5 separate regions of the Homo sapiens genome follow, and all the other regions are linked to region 1. Evidence: promoter capture Hi-C in 16 types of primary human blood cells and fetal thymus (Javierre and others, 2016). All regions are on one chromosome and are shown on one strand. Each heading gives the region's core, a stretch centred on a gene start or on the middle of the fragment in contact. The rest is flanking DNA. Distances are from core to core; before and after follow the strand shown. Region 1 holds the start of TAGLN2 (transgelin 2). Region 2 overlaps AIM2 (absent in melanoma 2). Region 3 has its middle 12 kb from the start of TRR-TCT4-1. Region 4 has its middle 12 kb from the start of CADM3. Region 5 has its middle 9.1 kb from the start of ACKR1.

Region 1 (2,555 bases), core at 29-2,528:
AACCTATTTGTTGGTTCTGGAATGGTAGGGCCCTACTGGGCCCGCCCTGCCTTGGCCTCCTCTGCAGTTGTAGGTCTGCCCCTTGTAGTGGGGAGGAGAAACTGGGAGGGGGCTAGAGATAGAGAGCCATTGCTGTCTGGTGCTTTGAAGTCAATGAGAACACTGGGGGAGCCCCGTCCCAGCCGCAGGTCTTCTACATCGAATCCCACACTCCATCCCCACTCTCACCCCGTTTCTCTCTGCCCCACAGATACCAACTGCTCACAGATCTCCCAGGACACCGGCTTCAGGTAGCCCCAGGAGGCACAGGGCGCGGGGGGAGGCGGCAGTCCACCTCCGGTCCTGCAGGTCCGGCCTCCCAGCCGCCGCCCCCCACCCCCACGACCACACCCTGGGCCGTTACAACAGATGAGTCACCCACCGCCCTCCCGCCGCTGGGGTGACGCAGTGGTCTGGGCAGCCCGCCCGTCCGCCCGCGGCCACCACCGGCTTTCCCAGCAGCAGGGGGCACCCGGTGGGGGCAGCGGCGCTCGGGCAGGGTAAAAGCAGCCACCACCACCCCCACAACCTCACACAGGGCACCCCGGGGCGCAGTCAGGGCTGCAGCACCCAGACCCCCGAGGTCAGGGGACCGTCATAGAGATGACTGGAGCTTCACAGAAGGTCACCGTGCGACCCATGCAGAGCCCCCTAGCCCCAGCCCGTGACCTCAAGTCCCCAGAATAGCAAGCTAGCAGGAACAGGAATGAAAAGGGCGGCCTCGGGGACTCAGAGGGCACGCAGTGCTCACACGTGCTCCTGGAACCAGGAAGTGAAGGGTCGCGCGGGAAAGCCCAGGAGCACGAGCTGGCCCAGGGCCGGCGCCACGACCCGGGGTCACTCGGGGCCAGCCAGCTAAAGTCCGACGCCCTTTTTTCCCCTCGCCCCAGTGAGGACTCAGCGATGGAGCCCGCGGGTGGGGCTCAGTCCCTGAGTCCCTGCTCCAGACGGACGCCCTGTCTATGCATGGGCTAACCTCGCCTGACCTCATCGTCCAACAATGTCGGGTCAGGGCTTGGGGACAGGACCTGACAGCACGGGGCGGGGTAAAGTAGTCACCGGACCCTTGCCTGGTACCAGCCCTTGATCCCCGAGCTCGCTGGAGCAAGTTCAAAGCGCTGGCTTCTTGCTTTCTACACAGCACGCACATGTCCCCGACCCCCGTACCCCCGACCTGCTCACCGTTCAAGCGGGCTGGAGAGCGGCGCACTGACTCAAGGCAAGGGCTGCAGCTGCAAGTGGTGCGCCCTGCCCAGCCGGGGATTTTCAGGAGGGTCCCGCCTCAGACGGGGCGGACCCGGGGCGGGGCAAGGGCCAAGAAGGTTTAAAGGCGCCGCAGCGCAGAAGGAGGGAGGACTGCTTGAGACAGAGGGACAGTAGACCAGAGCAAGGGTTAAAGGTTCGGGGAGTCTGAATCTACAAAGGCGGCTGCAGTGGTCTCCACCCGTGAGTACCTCAGCCTCCACCGAGAGCCCGTAGACTTGTGCCCCAGTAGGAAACTTTCTGCCTAGAAAGTTAGCTAAACACTGTGGGCGTGTTTATGTAGGAAGAAGCCTCCTAGTTTAGAGGCTGGCAAGGTAAAAGGAGGCACAGGAAGGCCTTCCCCCGACCCCAACTGACTAGTGTGTGACAGGACTGGGACTTGCAGGCCGGGACAGCACCCCCACGTGATCTTGCTCACCTCTTACTTCAAGCCTGGGCAGGGACTAACAGTGAGGTCACTCTGCCCAGGGCCCTAGGGGTGTTTTCGGTGTTGGGACCCAGGGCTCAGACCTGTCTTCTCCCTGCCTTTCATCTCCTTTTCTATGACCTGGTATCTCTTCCTAAATCCTGGAGGGATCAGAGGGGGAGACCTCAGCGCGAGGAGGCTGGCTGGGGTTCTTTTGTCTCTGAGGGTGGAGGACAGCACAGTTCAGGGGTGGAGAAAGAGCCCCCCATCCTTTCAGGCTTCAGTTGAATAGAGTCCCCCGGGGTGGAGTTCTGCACACATGATAGAGTCCTCCCTTGAACCTGAGATTCCAGGATGTCAATATCCAGTCCTGTCCAACCTTTCTATTATTCTCTGTTCCCTCCCCGAGTCCTACACAGCCCTATATTCCAGTCCCACTGATTGTCAAGCATTCTCACTCTTCTGTGCCTTTACAAAGGCTATTCCTCTGCCTAGGACAGTTTCCCTTCCTTGACTGGCTCCCCACCTGCTCTACCCTTTACCTGCTGTGTGACTGTTGTGCATTCTATGCTTGAGTTCCCTGGTCTATAGAACAGAGCTAATAGTACTACCTAATTCATAGAATTGTAGAGAACTAAACAGTCCACCTATAGGGCTTAGAGCAGTGCCTGGCACATAGTGAATACTATTATTACCACCATCTATCTGTGAGGGTCCTGAGGACTCCCCCCCAATATGTGGCATTTGTCCCAGCACACGATATTAGCGTTCACTAAAGGTGGCCTTGAATGCAACATCTTCCTTTGTGCTACAATAACCAACACATAGCTTTATCACGGAACTTATC
Region 2 (2,555 bases), core at 27-2,526, 850 kb before region 1:
TGAGTTTCCAAGCTAGTCCCAAACTGGATCTTTTTTAGCTAAGCAGAATAACAAAATCCCAGAATCATTAGAATAGCAAAATGGGGAGAAGATTGTAGAAGGGGAAATTTTGTTCTATCCTGGTCAAAGAGAAGAATTAATTCTTGATTTATTACCAAAATAAAAGATATTTCTAAATATCTCAGCCTATGTTTGCCAATATGCCTAGATTCCTGGCTCATCCCAGATAAGAAAAACACAGGGCAATGTTTTGGTTGGTTACTTGGAAGTAACATGTGTAGTTACTGCCATCTAAGGGCCATCTCTAAGAACTACACCTTCTAACTTAAAGCCTGGGAAAACCACCACTCCTTTCTCTTTAGTGCCTTAGAAACTACCTAACAGTTTATATCTGTATAGAATTATGAATGTACATAGTATCACTTATGTGGCTTCATTTAGCCTTCCTATAACTCATGTGTGAGAAGCCATGTCACCCTTGTTGTACACCCACAAATGCTACTAAAAGCTATTATAATTTTTGCTGCTACTGTTGTACTTTGAATCCTAAAACTGTTGCATTTGGAGACTTTCATTTTGGAGAGTCCTTGAGTGATATGCTCCTCTGTTAGCTCCTTTTTGTTCTTCAGACATAAAGCTGGGACATATCAATTGTTCTTAGTAAACAAAATCAGGAATTTAAACTAAATGTAGATAATTCAGATGGAGATGAGTGATTTATTGAATAATGTAAAAAAAATCTTTGTGTTGTGGGTAATTTATACTGTCACCTGTACTGGAGATAGAGAGGAAAGAAAATCCCTGAAGGTGGATTCTCCCTCCCTTCTGAAGAAGGAGGAGATCATCGCCTAAAGAAGGATAGTCTGGGACCACAGAAAGCTGGGGACAAGGAGAGGAATAGACAGACTGTGTGAAGGAAAAAAGGTGCTCAATATCCTGGTTTACAGTTTTCCAATGCAATAATTTATACTTTCAAGACTTCAGTAGAATGTGACAGCATTACATACTGTGTAAATGGAGTTGGGAGAAGTTAACTTTGAAATTCTACGTCCATATTCACTGCAACTGAACTGGAGACAAAGATGGGCAAGGAGAAAAGATGTTAAATGGAAGTGGTAACCCTAAGGCTGGAAGAAGAGATGCAAACAAAGGCTGGAATGGATTTGTGGAATTTGTAACAAACACTTCCTAGAAGCGATTCTCAGTAAAAGGGGGCAAAGAGACAGGTGCACTAAGTTAGCAAACAAATTCCAACAATGTGCACTGGGGGTCATATCCCAGGGATGCCATGAAAGGAAAGGCCCAGGCTTGGCAGAAAAAGGGACGGGGCAGGTGTGGAACTCCCACATTACCTTTCTCCTTCTCCTCCTGAAGACGTTTTGCCAAAAGCATATAATTCAACTTCTGAAAAATACGAATGGTCTTCATCACTGCAGACACCGCCCCAGCATTTTGAATCATCAAGGTAGCTACTTGTATTCTGTTTGCAGTATGTAGTTTGCCTGTGGCAATATTAAACTCGTCTGAAAGAAAGAACTTAAACCTATCCAGTTCCTCATCAGTGATGTTATCCAGGCCTGTTAGCAAGAGTATCTCCTTGTATTTACTCTCCATCTGACAACTTTGGGATCAGCCTATAAGGAATCCAAAACATGTAAGATTACACCACCAAAAGTGATTCTACATTCAAAATAAAGCAAGGTGAGCTATTAATATTTTTTAAAGAAAAATAAAATATTTGCAGTAGTAAAAGAGATTTGAGTAGGACATAGGTAAGAACTTCTTAAGCAAGGTGATCACTACTCCTGGGAAAGACATCTTCAGAAAGTATACAACACCTCTGGAATTCTCAGAAAACAAGATACATTAGCTGGGCGCGGTAGCTCACGCCTGTAATAATCCCAGCACTTTGGAAGGCCAAGGTGGGCGGATCACCTGCGGTCAGGAGTTTGAGACCAGACTGGCCAATATGGCAAAACCCCATCTCTACTAAAAGTACAAAAATTAGCCGAGCATGGTGGTGGGCGCCTGTAATCCCAACTACTCAGGAGGCTGAGGCAGGAGAATTATTTGAACCTGGGAGGTGGAGGTTGCAGTGAGCCAAGATCGCGCCATTGCACTCCAGCCTGGGCAACAGGAGCGAAACTTCATCTCAAAACAACAACAACAACAACAACAAAAAGGAAACAGGATACATTTTCCTGTTATTTTTAAAATAGATTTATCGAGGCATAACTGGCATACAACACGGTGCATACACTGGAAGTATACAATCTGATAAATTTTGGCATATACATATACCTGATGAAGTGCAATTAATCAATCTGTTCTTTCATGGATCATGCTTTCAGTGTCTTATTTAAGAAATCTTTTCCAATCTCAAGATTAGAAGATTTTATGTCTTCCTGTAAGAATTTTACGGTTTGATCATTTCACATTTGGCTGTATGTACTGCTTTGAGTTAATTTGTATATGATATAAGTGATGATTCAAAGTTCATTTATTTTTCATATGAATATGAATTTTCCCAGAATCATATGTTAAAAAGACTGTCA
Region 3 (2,555 bases), core at 18-2,517, 800 kb before region 1:
AATCCCGTCCTCTCTTTCCTTTGAGTTTTCTATCTCCATTAAACTTCTATTTGCCTTTACTGCAACCACTAATCCAGATTTTTTTGTGTGTTTAAAGTAATAAATATTCTGTACTTGGAGAATGGCCTAGTATCGTTATAGCGAGTTCACTCAGTTACTCCCACTCTTTTGACTGCTTTTGACCAAGCCAGTAGTCCTCTATCCGACTTCTTCACCTCTATGGCCTTCCATGGAAAGCCACTTGCCAGTATCCTAACCCCCTCTGCCTTTGTCCTTCCTTCCCTCCCACACCCCCTCTTTCCAGGATCTAGATACTTTAACTCTCAGCTTCCTCAGTGTTTGCACCCGGGCTGCTAATCATTGCTAGGGAAAATCACACAACTATAAATTCATGACAATAAACTTCATCTGGTTCTCCACACTGCTCCACAAACTACATTTCCTAGTCAGCTCACTCTTCATATTTTAATAATGATACTTCAAGATTTCTTCACTCCCCTTATATGTTTGATCCCTCTACATTGGGACACATTCTCAGCAAATAACCCACATTGTTACCTCACAGAAATTATCAAGTCCACTTGTCAGAAACTCATCCAATCTCCTAACTGCAGTGGATTGAACAGTGGACCCCAAAAAGACATGCCCAGGTTTTAACATTTAAAACCTATGAATGTGACCTCATTTGTAAAAAGCATCTTGCAGATGTAATTAATGTAAGGATCTTGAGATGAGATCATTGTAGATTTAGGGCGGGCCTGGAATCCAATGGCAGGCATCCTTACAGAGAAATGCAGAGAGAGATCTGAGACACAGAAAAGATGGCCAGGTAAAGACAGAGGCAGAGTTTGGAAGTATGCAGACCCAAGCTAAGAAGCTTGTTCAGAGGAGTGAAAATCTGCTTACATCTTGACCTTGATTTTGGACTTCTGGGTTCCAAAACTTTGACAGAATAAATCTCTGTAATTTCTGAGGCACCCAGTTTGGGGAAATTTGTTATGGCATCTCTAGAAAATTCATGATGCTAACTAAGCTGACAACTGCATTTGTACCTGCTCTATCCACCTTCTCTTCAGTTACAGTACTAAGGGTTGAGTCTACAGCCAGGTTGTGAACCCAACAATAGGACACTGTGGTTAATGGTGCAAGTCTCAAGCTAGATTGACTGGGTATCAATGCTGTCTCCACCACTTACTATGTGATGTTGGTTACTCAGAGTACCATTCTATGCCTCAGTTTCCTTATCTCAAAAAAACAGGATAACAATAAAAAGTACCTCTGTAGGAGAGGCTGTGTAGGAATTAAATGGAATCATGCCCTCAGAACAGTTACTGAATAAGAGGGGAACAACTTTCATTACTACTATTATCATTATCTCTGACTGCCTCCTCAAATACTAAACTATCTATTGATTACTCCTCTCTCTTGTTCCTTCAATGTTTGTCTTTATGAGATAACTTCCATGAGCATTTAAACATTCACTACCATTCCCTGTCAAACAAACCACTCCCTAAACCACACACTTCTCCCTCCAGCTCCCATCCCATCCACTAACTCCATTTCACAACAAATGTTTTAATTGTATACACTCCTTGCTTCTCCTTCCTCACTTCTCACTCACTTGGGAACTCACTAATGTCCACTTCTGTCACTCCACTGAAGCTTCCCTTGACAACCCATGTATTACCAAATCCTAAAGGAAACGTCGGCCCTTATCAGCAACATTTGACACTATGGCTCGTGCACCCTTTTTTAAAAGCATCTGTTCATTGATTCTGGCCCCAGCCCTCCTAGTTTTCTTCCTGCCTATCTGGCCAGTCTCATTTGCTCGCTTCTACCTCCTCTGATGATTCCTTAAATGATGGGTTCCTCAGGGCTTCTTCTTAGCCATTCTTCTTTTCTTATTTTACCTTCTATGAGATATTGACCACTCCCAAGACATCAATTTACTCACAACAGACTGATCATTCCTAACTTGTATTTCTGACCTAGATTTCTCTTCACAGTTCCAGGCTCATATATCTAGCTGCCCATTAGACATATCTACTGGTACATATTTGACACCTCAAATTCAACATGTCTAAAGTGGAAATACTCATCTTCCCTGGCCTTTTTGAGAATCTACTTCCACTACCTATCCCCTTTCTCATTAAAAGGCACTTCCATTCACTCATTTGCTCAAGCCAGAAAGCCGGGAATCATCCTGGGCTCTCCTTTTCCCTTTGCCTCTTACAGCTGATTTCCACTGAGTCTTATTCATTTGATATATTAAATGACCCTCAGTTTTATCCTCTTCTCTCTCTTTCTCTCCACTTCTCTAATACAAGCCAACACCATATCACATATACCCTCAAACTGTCTCCAACCTAGCTTCCCTTCAGTCTTTCTCCAAATTCTTCTGGAATAATCTTTTCAAACTGTATTCCAAACTATAAATCTAAGCCTGGTCACCACACACACACACACACACACACACACACACACACACACACACGCACGCACTCTTCAAATCTGTCATTGGCTGGTATTTTCTCTTAGGATAAAATCCTAACTCC
Region 4 (2,555 bases), core at 16-2,515, 770 kb before region 1:
GAATCAAATCCACCAGTACCTTGATCTTGGACTTCCCAGCCTCCAGAACTGTGAGAAACCAAAGTCTGTTGTTTAAGCCACATAGTTTATGGTATTCTGTTTTAGCAGCCTCAAGTAAGACACTAATCCTCCTTCATTCCAAAATACTAAACCCCACAAAAAGCTTCTCCTAATTCCACTATTTCTTTTCATGGTTCAGCATTTTCCAAGTCACTCAAAAGCCAAAACTGAGAGCTGCCTCAGCCTTCTCCCTCTGTCTTGCTTCCCATAACCAACACCAAACGTAGCACCTCTTTTCCATTCCCAATTCCACTGCCCTTGCTCAGGACTCTTTTACTTTGTTCCTGGATTTCTATAATCATCTTTTAACTCATATTCTTAGAATAAGCATTTAATTTAAAAAAAATTAATCATTCAATACATAGGCACACATTATAAAAATATGAAGTATATAATATGGACAATTATAGTCCCCCTTATGACTTAAGTCTCACTCCTGGCCCAGAAAATAATTTTCCAAGTTTAATATGCATCTGAACAATAGAAACACTCAAGTGCCTACTATGTGCCAGGCGCTATTTAAAGCAATTTAAATAGATTAATTTATTTAATTTTCACATCATACCACCCTAGGGGTCATGTAAAATTATCTCTATTTTCCACACAATGAAAAAAAATGCTGAGGCGGTTAAGTATCTTGCCTGAAGTCACACAGCCAGTAAGTAACTATTCATTTACTTAAACACATATTTATATGCATATAAGATTTTACATACACATATGTATATGTTTTATGCTTTTTTCCCATTTTACACAAAAGGGATAGCAGTATGTGTATTTTCTTTGTATTTTCACTGAACAACATACCTTCTGTATCTTTCTATGTTGGTAGATATAAATTTACCTCATTCTTTTTAACTGCAATGTGTTATTACAAAGTATGATATAGCATAATCTATTTATCCAATTCACTATTGATGAATATTTATGTTGTCTTCAATTTTTCACTACTGGAAAAAAATGATGTGATGCATATCTCTGCACATAAATCAGAGCACTCATGTGTGAACAGATCTATAGCATAATTTGTAGAAATAGCACTGCTGGTATTTCTATTTTTAATTCTGATGCATTCTGCCAAAATATCTCCAAAAAGGCTGTGCCAATTTACATCCTCCCTAACAATATATAAAGGTGCCTATTTCCCTAAGCACTTGCCAACACTGAGTATTATCCATCATTTTAATTTTTTAACAATCTGATGGGTTCTTTGATGCTTTTTAACAGTCTAGGATCTCTTTGGTGCTATAACTTGTATTTCTCAAAATCCAAATGCCGTTGATCATCTTTTCAAATGTTTATTAGACAACTGTATTTTTTTTCTGAGAATTCATACTCATATCCTTTGCCCAATTTTCTCTTGGACTGTTTGTCTTTTTTATGTTTATTTGCTGACTATTTTGCATGTTAGCAATTTTGATACTTTGGCATATATATTGCAAATAAAATCTTCCCAGTCTGTGACTTACTTTTACATTTTGTCTATGGGTCTGCAATTATATCAGTTTTAAAAATTATGCAGTAAATCTTATCGGTCCTTTCCTTTATCGACTCTAGGTGTTGTGTCTTGCTTAGGAAGGTCTTTCCCACTCTAAGATTAAGTATATTTTTCGACAGTTTTTGCAAACATTTTTAGTGTTGTTTGGTTTATAAAATTTAGCACAAGTCCACCTGAAATATATTGTCGTATATGGCATAAGGAAAGGCTAAACCTATCCCATACCAACTGACAAACAGATAACCAATTATTCTAATGTCTTTAAACAGTACAACCCTCTAGTCACTGATTAGAAGTGTAGTATATAATGAAGGTAGCACTCTTCATACACTAAATTTCCAAGTTGGTTTGTAACTACACTCTCTCTTCTGCTCCATGGTTCTATTTATGTATTCCTGTGCCAAGATTTCATGTTTTAATTGCTATAATTTTAAAGTTGCTTAGGATAGCTAGAAAATCATCCTCCCCCTTAGCCCCATGTGTTTAAAAAATTATGGCTATTTACTCTTGACTTTATCTTCCAAGGGAATGTTAGAATAGGCTAGTCAAGTTCCATAAAATATCTTATTGGAATTTAGCATAGTATTGCATCAAATTTATAAATTAAAAATTACCATCTTTACCACAATGAATCTTAGAATTAATATTTAAATACCAATTCAACAACATAACGTCCTGCTACAATTTTTTTTCCAACTGACATTGGGATAAAGATAAAGCTCTTCAGTGTCTAGTTTTCAAATCCCACCTCCCAAATTTGGTTTAAACTAGCCATCTCATCAAATTGATTTCCCTTATTTTTCATCCACAAAGCTTTTCAAACCAGTATACTGATTCTATCCTAAATAATCCTTCATTCCCTGTGCTAGAGATGCCATGCAATTAGGAAAGGGATAAAGCAGTTATATTCTTTGTCTACACATCCTCACTTTGAAGTGCTAACATTCTGGGTCTATCCAAGATCCATCATTACCCTTTAACAAGGCAAGAATAGGTA
Region 5 (2,555 bases), core at 36-2,535, 710 kb before region 1:
TTTTTAAAGACTTAGAGGTTTCACTTGGCTACAAGCTAAAGATGATTCAATAGTGCATGTGGTAGCCAAAACACTAATGCAGACTCAACTGCATTAAGAGACAAAGTGTACAGGACGAGGGAGTGCACAGCACCACCCCTGCCCTGGACAGGCCATAGTTAGAATAGAGGGCTTGGCTCTGGGTACTGCATGTTTAAAGGCCACTAACAAATGAGAGTTCTTAAAAAGGGGGTGGCCAGGCTGGGTGCAGCTGCCACGCTTATAATCGTAACATTCTGGAAGGCTGAGGTGGGCAGATTGCTTAAGCCCAGGAGTTCCAGAGCAGTCTGGTCAACAGGATTAAACCCCATCTGAAAACACACACACACACACACACACACACACACACACACACACACACACAAATAATACAAAAATTAGCTGGGCATGGCGGTGTGTGCCCGCAGTCCCAACTACACAGGGGGCTGAGGTGGGAGGATCCCTGGATTCTGGGAGGTCGAGGCTGCAGTGAGCCGTGATCGTGTCACTGCACTCCAGCCTGGGCGACAGAGTGAGACCTTGTCTGGGAAAAAAAAAAAAAAAAGTGAAGACAAGGCAGAGGGAGCTAGTGGCCAAAATGTTGACAATCTAGAGACCATGTTACTTCTACATGGAGAGACTAAAGGTGCAAGGGGGTCAGGGGTGGGGGAGATTTACACTGGAAATGTGTAGAAAATATATAGTTGTCTTTAACTCAACAGTTGTGCTGTTCAAAAAGCATTAGGCATGTATGTAGCTTCAGAATTAGAAACACTGAATGAGAAGAAGTAACAGGGAGGCTGGTTTTGGCTGAATGTTAGGAAGAGCTTTTGACAATTCAATCTGAGCCACAGAGATGGCTGTCACATTCTGGAGGGAGGGAGGGAAGAAGTGGAGGGAGGAAGGAAATGTGTATGAGCAGACCGTGTGTTATGCACTGCTCTGTGTTCTTGTTTTACAGTGGTGAGCATATCAGATGTGGGCCTTGCCTTTGTGGTGTTTGGAGACTAAAGTGAAAGGCAGTAATTAGACACATAAACACACAAATAAATTACAAATGCTGTTATGAGATAACAGCATTTAAGAGAAATGCAAATAAAAAAATTTTCATCTCTGGTGCAAATAAGAGAAAGAAAATAAGAAGGTAAAAGCAATTTGAGTTATGAGTTCATAGCTACAGAAAGGATCCAAGCTGTGGCTTGACGGTAATAAATTATCAAAATGTCACAGAAAGCATTCCCTGAATTGGGTTAAAGCTGGGACCAGTCCAGCTGCTTTCTTTCAAATTGGCAATACATTGGAATCACCTAGAGGAAGATTTTCAATAGTCCTTGATCTAATCCAAGATACCATTAATCATAATTTTTGGAACTAGAAGACTCTGAAACTCTGTGATAATATGTTAAGTGAAAGAACTAGACTAAAATGCATAATCTTTGATTCTGGTGTCTGGGTTTCACTTGTGATGACTTTAATCTCTTTGCTTGCGTTATGGAACTAAATTCCTCTGATTCAGAGCTAGGATACCTTTTCTCTTCAGGAGACCAAACAACGAAGGGATTCCTAGCCAGATATGCACCTGACCTGAATTTTTCCAAGAGGTGGGTACCATTCCAGGCACTAGCTGCTGCAGAGAAATTGTAGCTGGTGCCTGGGGTCCCTCTAGTGGTCAGAAGCTGTCACTTCAATTCGCTTCTCTGGCCCAGGTTTGGCCAGAGAATTAGAGGGATGCAGGAGTCCCGCAAAAAGCAGGCAAAGAAACCTAAATACATGTATATTTCAGAAGGTTCTTCTTTATAATTAACACTAAAAATAGAGGTGACATAACTCACGAATTTCTTTCCAAATTTTTCCTGACCCTTTTTACCTTGTCTTGGCTAATTTAAATTTAGAGAAAGAAGGGAGTTGAGAGAGATACAACTTTTAGAAACCAGAGTAGACAGCTCCCCAGGATACCAGGCCATCAGTTAGGTATTCCAAGTTTCATTTTCATTCCCTGGCAAAATGCAAAACATATCAGAGTTGGGTGGTCAGATAGAGCACTGGGTTGAGTAGGGAGACATGAGTTGTGCATTCTGAGCCGTAGCACTTCGCAGCTTTCTAAGTTTCTAAGAGAAAAAGCAGGTAATGACACCTTCCTTGCCTGGCTCACAGGTCTGATGTAAAGATTAAATGGGATGACTGACAGATGTGGAAGCTCTGAAATCAGTTACAGCTGGGAGGAAATACACTGCAATTAGTATTAAAGAAGAGTTTGCCCTGCAGGCAATTCGAAAAATGTCCATTGCCTTTTGGGGTCACTTCACCCTAAACACAAGTTCTTACAAAGGCAGGAGCACATGGGAGCTGGACTGCTAGGAGTTAGCCTTCCAGCTCTGTCTTTGGGTGTGTTCTCAGCCCTGTGACCAAAGGACTCACGGAATCTGCCTAAAACAGTGTTTCACAGGGACCTCTAAGGAAGAATTCCCTTACAACAGGGGTCAACAGGGGGCAAGGGAAGGGAGCAGGTGATAGTAGTGATGGTAATGGGAGCTGTT

The links. The method cuts DNA at HindIII sites, captures the fragments that hold promoters and counts their contacts. A CHiCAGO score of 5 or more calls a contact.
Region 2: a contact is called between a fragment that was not itself captured here and the fragment with the promoter of TAGLN2 in region 1, in 1 of 17 cell types (neutrophils). The highest score is 5.0, in neutrophils.
Region 3: a fragment that was not itself captured here is called in contact with the fragment with the promoter of TAGLN2 in region 1 in 1 of 17 cell types (endothelial precursors); the score reaches 6.6 in endothelial precursors.
Region 4: a fragment that was not itself captured here is called in contact with the fragment with the promoter of TAGLN2 in region 1 in 4 of 17 cell types (M1 macrophages, endothelial precursors, naive CD8 T cells and 1 more); the score reaches 7.7 in M1 macrophages.
Region 5: a fragment that was not itself captured here is called in contact with the fragment with the promoter of TAGLN2 in region 1 in 2 of 17 cell types (endothelial precursors and megakaryocytes); the score reaches 7.2 in endothelial precursors.

Annotation. Positions count from the first base shown.
Region 1 is chr1:159,924,229-159,926,783 of GRCh38, forward strand. TAGLN2 (transgelin 2) reads right to left here and starts at 1,279. Exons shown (of 5, transcript NM_003564.3): 1 at 1,222-1,279. It overlaps LOC124904437 (a long non-coding RNA gene), which reads left to right. Exons shown (of 2, transcript XR_007066683.1): 2 at 251-2,555. RefSeq lists enhancers at 1-908, 381-957 and a silencer at 240-649. The HindIII fragment of the contact is 4,255 bases long and covers 1-2,555 here.
Region 2 is chr1:159,071,886-159,074,440 of GRCh38, forward strand. It overlaps AIM2 (absent in melanoma 2), which reads right to left. Exons shown (of 6, transcript NM_004833.3): 2 at 1,353-1,634. The coding sequence starts at 1,614. Among named protein-coding and RNA genes, the nearest start is that of AIM2, 3.6 kb to the right of the region's middle. The HindIII fragment of the contact is 3,980 bases long and covers 1-2,555 here.
Region 3 is chr1:159,128,350-159,130,904 of GRCh38, forward strand. It overlaps a transcript of AIM2 not described here. Among named protein-coding and RNA genes, the nearest start is that of TRR-TCT4-1, 12 kb to the right of the region's middle. The HindIII fragment of the contact is 785 bases long and covers 876-1,660 here.
Region 4 is chr1:159,157,901-159,160,455 of GRCh38, forward strand. No RefSeq gene overlaps it. Among named protein-coding and RNA genes, the nearest start is that of CADM3, 12 kb to the right of the region's middle. The HindIII fragment of the contact is 2,208 bases long and covers 162-2,369 here.
Region 5 is chr1:159,212,667-159,215,221 of GRCh38, forward strand. No RefSeq gene overlaps it. Among named protein-coding and RNA genes, the nearest start is that of ACKR1, 9.1 kb to the left of the region's middle. The HindIII fragment of the contact is 6,582 bases long and covers 1-2,555 here.